3 separate regions of the Homo sapiens genome follow, and all the other regions are linked to region 3. The links are contacts of gene promoters, found by promoter capture Hi-C in blood cells and fetal thymus (Javierre and others, 2016). All regions are on one chromosome and are shown on one strand. The core of a region is centred on a gene start or on the middle of the fragment in contact, and the rest is flanking DNA. Distances in the headings are between cores, read along the strand shown.

Region 1 (2,700 bases), core at 201-2,700, 88 kb before region 3:
AGTGACCGCTAATGAGGATGGGGTTTCTTCTGGGAGTGATGAAATTTTCTGGAATTGGGTAGTGGTGATGGTTGCACACTTTGTGCACTTTGTGAATGTACTAAAAGCCACTGAATTGTATGCTTTAAAATAGTGAATTTTATGGTATGTGAATTCTATTCCAAAAAGTTTGTTGCTTCAAAAATTTGTCCAAGAATCATCTTTGGTTATGGAATACTAATACAAATTCATTAGAAAGAATATGTTAAATAGAGCTTATGTTTTGATGTAAAATAAGTATATTTCCCAAAAGAGGGTGTTAATTTTTAATAACTTTTACTGAAGATCAGGTAGGCCTGAAGGGCTGCCATTTCAAATGTAAAAGTCTTAAGGCATTATTTTAAAAGCCTGCAGCCATTATTATTATTATTATTATTATTATTACTATTATTATTTTAATTTATCTCTTGTATGTGATAGCTGTCATTTGTTAATGAGAGGAAAATGCACTCAAAATTTACCTTTGTATAGTAAAAGGTACAAACTTTCATGGGCCATTCTTGTTTATTTTTTGACTAGAAAATGAGTAAAGATATGACTACAATTTGAAAACATCTTTTTGGAAATACAGGCAGATCATAATAGTGGAATAATGCGAAGGGTTTTAGAGAGAAGATTTTGTCTAAGGGTCAGTAGTTACAATGTCCATTCAGTTAACTTGTACCTTATAAAGAAGCCACTTGGCAGCCAGGGAAGCCTGAAGTTCTGTTGGAGAACTGGACCCCATCCAGCAATCCACCTTTGAAAGACCATGTTCACAGGGAGAAAAAGGCAGTAGCAGCAGCCTCATCCTTTAGAGAATTCTAAATTCTGACGCACGCTTGACCGAATGTTGAGAAAGGGCTTTGAAGGGTTTGCACGTAGTGTGGGGTGTAGTGCTGTAGCTTTTAGTAGCTTAGAGTAGTTGAAAAAAACAGATAGTAAGACAAGTTTTTGAAGGCGCTTTTTGTTCTCCTGTCTTTTGTTTATCTTTTGAACTTGTCATTTAGTCAAATGAGCTGTTTTAATTTTCTCTTTGACTTCTATCATCTTTGCACCTATCACACTATCAAACGTTGTGGGTGTTCAATAAATATTAACTGATGACAAATTCTTATTTTTTTTTTTGGTTGATATTAGTCAGATCCCTGAAAATAAATATAATTTATCTGTTGTTTATTCCTTTTTGCAACTTTAAATATCCAGACACCTCTTATAATTTGTTATTGTCTGGACTGAATGTTATTTTACACTAAATGTTTTGGAAGGAAAAGAACCAAGAATTTAGTTCTGGGGGTGGAATAATTGGAGGTGAAAATTTTAACTAACTCTCTCTGCAGAAGGATATTTAAGACAAAGCTTTTGATGTAGAGAGTAATAAGTTGTTTCTATGCTGTATTTTCTTTTCTTTTTTCTTTTTGTTTCAGGGCTCCCCTCAAGAAAGACTTTTTCTTTACCTTCAACCTCTCTGTGCTATATTTTAGATTAATGTTCATTATTCTAATAAAAGCTTTTCTTATTTGAGTTGATTAATTTGTTTCTTTTTCTTCAAAGAAATAGGAATCAATAAATAATTCCTAAGGGGTTGGATTGGCATTTAGCCTTAAATTATTTTTCTTTCTTTTTCCTGGTAGAATTTCTCTGGCTATAATTAAGTTATTCTTAATTTATTACTGGAGTTTGTTTCTTTTTGGCCACATTCTGCTAGATCTTAGGTTTAGGTAATCTTGGAGATTTTTTTCCTACCTCTCTTTCCTATGCAGAGTTTGTGATAGTAAATGGAATTTTTCAGCATGTTATTGAGTATTCAAAGATGAATAAATCACAGTTCCTGCCACCAAGGAATTCACAGCATAGAGGAGATGACAGACATAACATGCACATTACTGAACTACATTCTGACACATGCCGTGTTGGAGGTGTAAGTGCAATGCCCTTGGACCGTGGATAGGCAGGCAGTCCTCTATTAATACCATGGAGAAGGCCTGGGCGGGTCAGGAAAGCTGTGTAGAGGAGGCAACTTGAGGTGGGACTTGAAGGGTAAGTGGGAATTCGTCAGGTAGGTGAGAAGAAGAGATCCCAGGCAGTGGGAGGAACACACACACAGACACAAAGTCTTGACCACATGTGTCAGGGCAGCATGACATAGGGAAAGAGGATGGCCTTTCAGGTCTTTCTTCTTTTTTTTTTTTTTTTTTTTGAGACGGAGTCTCGCTCTGTCGCCCAGGCCGGACTGCAGTGGCGCAATCTCGGCTCACTGCAAGCTCCGCTTCCCGGGTTCACGCCATTCTCCTGCCTCAGCCTCCCGAGTAGCTGGGACTACAGGCGCCCGCCACCGCGCCCAGCTAATTTTTTGTATTTTTAGTAGAGACGGGGTTTCACCTTGTTAGCCAGCATGGTCTCGATCTCCTGACCTCATGATCCACCCGCCTCGGCCTCCCAAAGTGCTGGGATTACAGGCGTGAGCCACCGCGCCCGGCCAGGTCTTTCAAGCTGGAAACGTGTGGGCTCAAATGAGACTCCATTGCTTGCTATGGACTGTAAGCAAGTTCTTTGTGACTCTGGGCTTAGATTTTTCACCTGTAAGAGTAAAGATAATAGTCTCCAGGTTTCCTAGGTGCATGAATGAGAAAGCACAGTGTTCTTTAGTTCTATGGAAGAAAAAGTACAGGTATAGTCAGG
Region 2 (2,700 bases), core at 72-2,571, 67 kb before region 3:
GCAAGCGGCTGCTTTTAAAATGAATTCTTTTGTTTGTGTCTCTGTTGGAGATTGTTTGAAATTTTGCATTAATTTTTATTAGTTACAACTTTTAACTCCTGTGTAAGCACCAAGTATGAAGATGATGGTTGTGTGTTCCTGAAGTTGCTTAGGTACACTGTTGTCTCATTATGGGAAGGGATGGAATGGAGGGAGCCCTGTCTGCTCTGTGCAGGAATCATCAGGTCTTCCACCTAGATTGTGGAGTGAGGTACTGCCTCCCTGAATGCATCCATCCATGCCTCACATCCCTAGTTGTCTTTTCCAAGCACTCGGAACTCTGGAGACTTACATTGAGGTTTCAGATTCACTTTAGTACCTACTAGTATCAAAGGAAACAGATAGCTTTGCTTTTGTGCGAGTGGTTGGGGTGTGGGTGTGTGGGTGGGGGAGGTGAGATATGAAATTCTACCTGATACTTCAAAGACATGTCTGAAACTCTATGAAGCCTAGCATGGTGATCTCTTATTAAGTAGTTGTTCTTTGATTACTTCAATATACAGATACTTGAATTCATTCATTTTTATACAGGAAAGGAAAGCACAGTGTGTTAATGGTTCTCCCTCAGAATTCGTGACCTAGAAAATGATATTAAGGTATTAGCATATTTACGTAAAAGAAGGTAGAGTTTATTTGAAATAAGTCTTTGTTTCTGCTGTCGAGTTGCTTTTTGAGTTGAAAGTATTTTTCAGGGTTTCAAATTAAGTTCTGAAGATTTTTACATCTGAATTAATTATCACTTGATCCTTGTAATACTGATGGGAAGGCTGTGAAATTCTTAATTAGGGGAAAATATCTCTCAGTTCTCTGGGAACTTGACTGAAAAGGTTATTCAAGATTTGGTTGGTATTTTACCCCTTTAAGCTTAAACATTTAAGCTTAAGTTTTAAATTTTGGCTATTTTAAATGAGAATCTCATACTTTTCCACATTCTTAACTGGAGGTTGCTAAGTGTAATGCAGCCCTTTTGTTGGGTTGTATAATTCACATCTATTATTGTACCTTGCTGTGATACACAGTACCCTGGGCTTTCACCTTACGTGAAATAGCCTCAGGATATTGTCTCTGTTAGGAGAGATGGGATGGGGCACTAACTTGATACTCATGTCTTAGCGTGTATGTTAATGATCACTTGTAATTTATACATCACTATGCACATGTTAGATGTAACATTATTATTCATGACATCTGTTGTTTCTTTTGAATTGAGATGATCTAAACAGGGCCAGTTGTTCACTGAAGCTGACTTACTCATGGCCTCTTTTCCTTTAGTTCTCCAGTGCTGATGAAGCGGCTTTAAAAGAGCCCATCATTAAGAAGTTTGAAGAGGAAGGAAACCCTTACTATTCCAGCGCAAGGTGGGGGCCAGAACATCACTAACTCTCTGATGGGTGCAGATGGCAGTCAGAGGAACAGCTTTACAGAGCTCTGTGTAGTTGAGATGGTCCAGCATTCATAGGAACTGGAAAATAACATTTGGACACACTTAATTTTGTACTGTTGTTTCTTTACAATCTGAATGGCTACTGCTGAAATGCCACCCCTCCTCCCAGCATCCCTGCACTGTGGACTCACCACCAGTGGTCTGATTCTCGCTTCCCTTGTCTTCCCCCTAGTTGAGGTGTCTGGGGCCTGGAGGGGTCCTGCAGCCCAAGGTGGGCCATGTTAGGAGCCGAGAATAAGTTATAAGCTTGGCTGTGTTACTTCAGAAGTTCTAATTTTTGCTTAAAAACCCCTCTCCTTGATCATTTTGTTTTTACCCCATTTTAAACATGAGATTGGTTGAACACTTACTGGCATTTGTTGACAAGTATGCTTGTACGTTTGAAAGGTGATTAGTCACTGCCAGGGTCTGTGTGTCGGCGCCAAATAATTACCTCACAGACCATTGCCGCTGTTGGCTCGGTTTTTTTCTTACACCACTTAATGAGGTAATAAATTATCATGCCTGTCCCAGCTGAAGACCTGCTGGTGCCTGCTTTCACATCTTTCTTCAACAACTTTAGTGTTCTGCATTCCGAAGACTAATCTAAGCTTCATGTCTTCCTTTCATCCCTTGGGCAGATGGAAAAAAGAAAGTAACTCTTTCTGCATCTTGTAAAATTAGCTTATGTTGTAATTTATGCTGGCGAAGGCAAACTGGAGAGGAGAGGGGAGAGAAAAGAAAATCAGGCCAGGCACAGTGGCTCACACTTATAATCCCAGCATTTTGAGAGGCCAGGGCGGGCAGATTGCTTGAGCCCAGGAGTTCGAAACTAGCGGGGCAACATGGTGAGACCCAGTCTCTACAAAAAATATACAAAAATTAGCCAGGCGTGATGGTGTGCACCTGTAGTCCCAGCTACTCAGAAGGCTGAGGCAAGCAGATCAGTTGAACCTGGGAGGTCAAGGCTGCAGTGAGCCGAGATCATGCCACTGTGCTCCAACCTGGGTGACAGAACAAGGCCCTATCTCAAAAAAAAAAAAAAAAAGCAAAAGTTAGAGTCCATTACAATCATTTGAATGGTTCCTTGGTGGATACAAAGACAAAACATACTGATTTTCAAGAACATAATTAGTTTGAGGAGATAAATAATACCATTTGGGTGTGTGTATGTGTTTTTGTTTTTGTTTTCTTTAAAGACAGAGTCTCACTCTGTTGCCCAGTTTGGAGTGCAGTGA
Region 3 (2,700 bases), core at 14-2,513:
GTTGACTGGGGCAGCTGTCTAGGACTGGGTTGTAGTAATGGGGATGGAGAAGAGTGGATGAATTTAGGAACAGTTGAGGGAAAGATGGTGTGGTGAAGGAAGCCAGGTGAGCAAGCAGGTCTAAGCGGGAAAGCATTGCTTTTCCTACAGGAATTTTCCTGTGCATTCAGGCTGTAAGGATCTCAACTTTTAAAAAAGCCACATTGTTCTCCCAAGTTGTTGGGGAGCTGGTTCACCATTGACTTCTGATCTCTGGAGATATTTTCATAATCATGGAGCTGTCTTTCTTTTCACTCTTTTACTCTCTTTCTAGACAGGCTTCTTGGATACCAAGGGTTGGTGGTGGGTGGGGGGAGGTTCTGGGGATGGTTAAATTTGCCTGGGCAGCCTCAAAGTTCAAAAAGGAGGGACAGGGAAGCTTAGCTAAGAACCAGGAGTTTGACATACTTAATCTCTCATTTCATCCTACTGATGACTTTGTGAGGTATATCTTTTTAATCCTAGATCTACAAAAGAGAAAGCTGAGGCTTGGAGAGGTTCTTCATTTTGTTCAAAGTCATACAACTTTTACGTGGTGTAGCCAGGATGGGAACCAGAGCCTGGCTCTCTGCACTTCCAACACCACTGCTGAATCCGGGTTTGTCTGTTTTCCCTCTCTTCTTTTAACTATTGTCACACAGATTCCATCATAGAACCCATCACGTGGAGGGCCACTATTTCTCTTTCTTTTGTATAGTATGTTTGCTTCCCCTACCCCACAGAGTAAGGTGCTCAGCAAATGTGGCTGTCTGGAGGCAACACCCCCTTCTCACCGCCACACTTGGGGTTGGGGTGCGAGGCAAGGCAGGGCTGGCGAGGTGGATGTTGCAGCTGTCACCACTGCTAGGTGTTGGGAAACGACTCTCCTGCCTGTGCATTGACCCGAAGGCATTTTCCATTTCCTAGGCCCCTCCCGCTTCCCGTCCCTCACCTCTAGCCCCTCGGCTTCAGCTCAGGCCCCTCGGGGAGCATCCCTTGCCGTGAGACTGACAGCCTTTGGGGGCGCAGGGTCCTGTTCTCTGCGCTCTAGCCCATCTGTGCGCAGAGCCTCGTTCCCAGGCGCCTGGAACCCGGCGGGCATTGACGTCAAGCGCCGGCGGAGCGCTGCCTACAGACGGTTGACCCGGGCCCTCCTCCACACCCCCTTCCTTCTTCGCCTCCTCCCTCTTTCCTGCACGGGGGCTCGGGCTCACTATAAAAGGTGGGAGCGCGTGGTGCCCCAGCAACGACGAGTTTCAGAACGATGGAGAGCTCCCGCGTGAGGCTGCTGCCCCTCCTGGGCGCCGCCCTGCTGCTGATGCTACCTCTGTTGGGTACCCGTGCCCAGGAGGACGCCGAGCTCCAGCCCCGAGCCCTGGACATCTACTCTGCCGTGGATGATGCCTCCCACGAGAAGGAGCTGGTCGGTATTCCCCTCGCTCTCGACCCCCTTGAGCTGTCGCCTTGTCTCTTCTCTTGCACGCCTCCCTCCTCCCCCCACCCCCACTCCTATTCCCAGAGTCAGGGCGCGGGGAGCTGAGCGCAACGCCCAGGCACCCACTGCCATCCGAAGAGCGTCTCGAGCTCACGGGCTCCTGGCAGTCTGTTGAGCGAATCCCTCATCCCGGCCCCTCTGAGCAACAGGGACCCCAGCGGCTCAGAGACCCGCGGTCAGTACCTGGGACAGCGTCCGCTAAGTTTCCACCCCTCGACCATTCCCTGTGTCCGCGGAGTCCCACCGCAGAGTGCGTGTGGGTCCGGGGCTCCTTATAACTAGGGCTGGAAGTGCGCACCTGGGCTGGGCTCGCAGCCAAGGCGGCAACTTCAGGCTCCGAAGCGGTGTGTTGCAGATCGAAGCGCTGCAAGAAGTCTTGAAGAAGCTCAAGAGTAAACGTGTTCCCATCTATGAGAAGAAGTATGGCCAAGTCCCCATGGTAAGGTTTGTGGTCACTCCCTTCCCGTGTTTTTCCAAGAGAAAGTACACCGCCTTGAATCGTACACACAGTCTTCTCCGTAGGATGTGGCTAAATAACTTAGGTAATGGGCTTGCAGGATTCTGTGGGCTCCTTCTTCCTTCCCGGGTGAGGAAATGGGAAAGCAGGAACAGGGGTTGTAAGAAAGTGTAAGTCTATTGTTTGTTGCTCAGGAAAAAGGTCTGATTTTTTTCCCCTCTGAGAGGGCAAGAAAAGGAGCCAGGAAATGTGATGCTCCCCTTCCCACGCCCCCCAACCCTCGCCACTTAAAGGTGGAAGAAACTAGGATAAAACTAATAATGTAAGTTTCTTTAAAAAATGTACTCTCACTGAGGTTATAAGCACAAGGCTCCCTGTTTCAGATCTGACTGTACGTAGACCTCTTGTGATGGTGATGGGGTCCAATTGCCCCTTTCAAGAGACAGAAATTGCGTTGACTGTGAGACTTGCCTGTTGGGAACCTGGGTTTGTTCATACTCGATGACCACACATTTTGTTGTTTCAGTGTGACGCCGGTGAGCAGTGTGCAGTGAGGAAAGGGGCAAGGATCGGGAAGCTGTGTGACTGTCCCCGAGGAACCTCCTGCAATTCCTTCCTCCTGAAGTGCTTATGAAGGGGCGTCCATTCTCCTCCATACATCCCCATCCCTCTACTTTCCCCAGAGGACCACACCTTCCTCCCTGGAGTTTGGCTTAAGCAACAGATAAAG

The links. Contacts are between HindIII fragments. The CHiCAGO score rates a contact against its expected background, and 5 or more counts as called.
Region 1: a fragment that was not itself captured here is called in contact with the fragment with the promoter of CARTPT in region 3 in 1 of 17 cell types (endothelial precursors); the score reaches 6.5 in endothelial precursors.
Region 2: a fragment that was not itself captured here is called in contact with the fragment with the promoter of CARTPT in region 3 in 1 of 17 cell types (endothelial precursors); the score reaches 6.2 in endothelial precursors.

Annotation. Positions count from the first base shown.
Region 1 is chr5:71,629,341-71,632,040 of GRCh38, forward strand. The region is part of intron 7 of MCCC2 (methylcrotonyl-CoA carboxylase subunit 2); the gene reads left to right. Among named protein-coding and RNA genes, the nearest start is that of MCCC2, 43 kb to the left of the region's middle. The HindIII fragment of the contact is 151 bases long and covers 1,376-1,526 here.
Region 2 is chr5:71,651,358-71,654,057 of GRCh38, forward strand. It overlaps MCCC2 (methylcrotonyl-CoA carboxylase subunit 2), which reads left to right. Exons shown (of 17, transcript NM_022132.5): 16 at 1,312-1,397. Among named protein-coding and RNA genes, the nearest start is that of MCCC2, 65 kb to the left of the region's middle. The HindIII fragment of the contact is 812 bases long and covers 916-1,727 here.
Region 3 is chr5:71,718,012-71,720,711 of GRCh38, forward strand. It overlaps CARTPT (CART prepropeptide), which reads left to right and starts at 1,264. Exons shown (of 3, transcript NM_004291.4): 1 at 1,264-1,441; 2 at 1,869-1,952; 3 at 2,497-2,700. The coding sequence starts at 1,283. The coding sequence ends at 2,604. RefSeq lists an enhancer at 1,402-2,288. The HindIII fragment of the contact is 2,457 bases long and covers 417-2,700 here.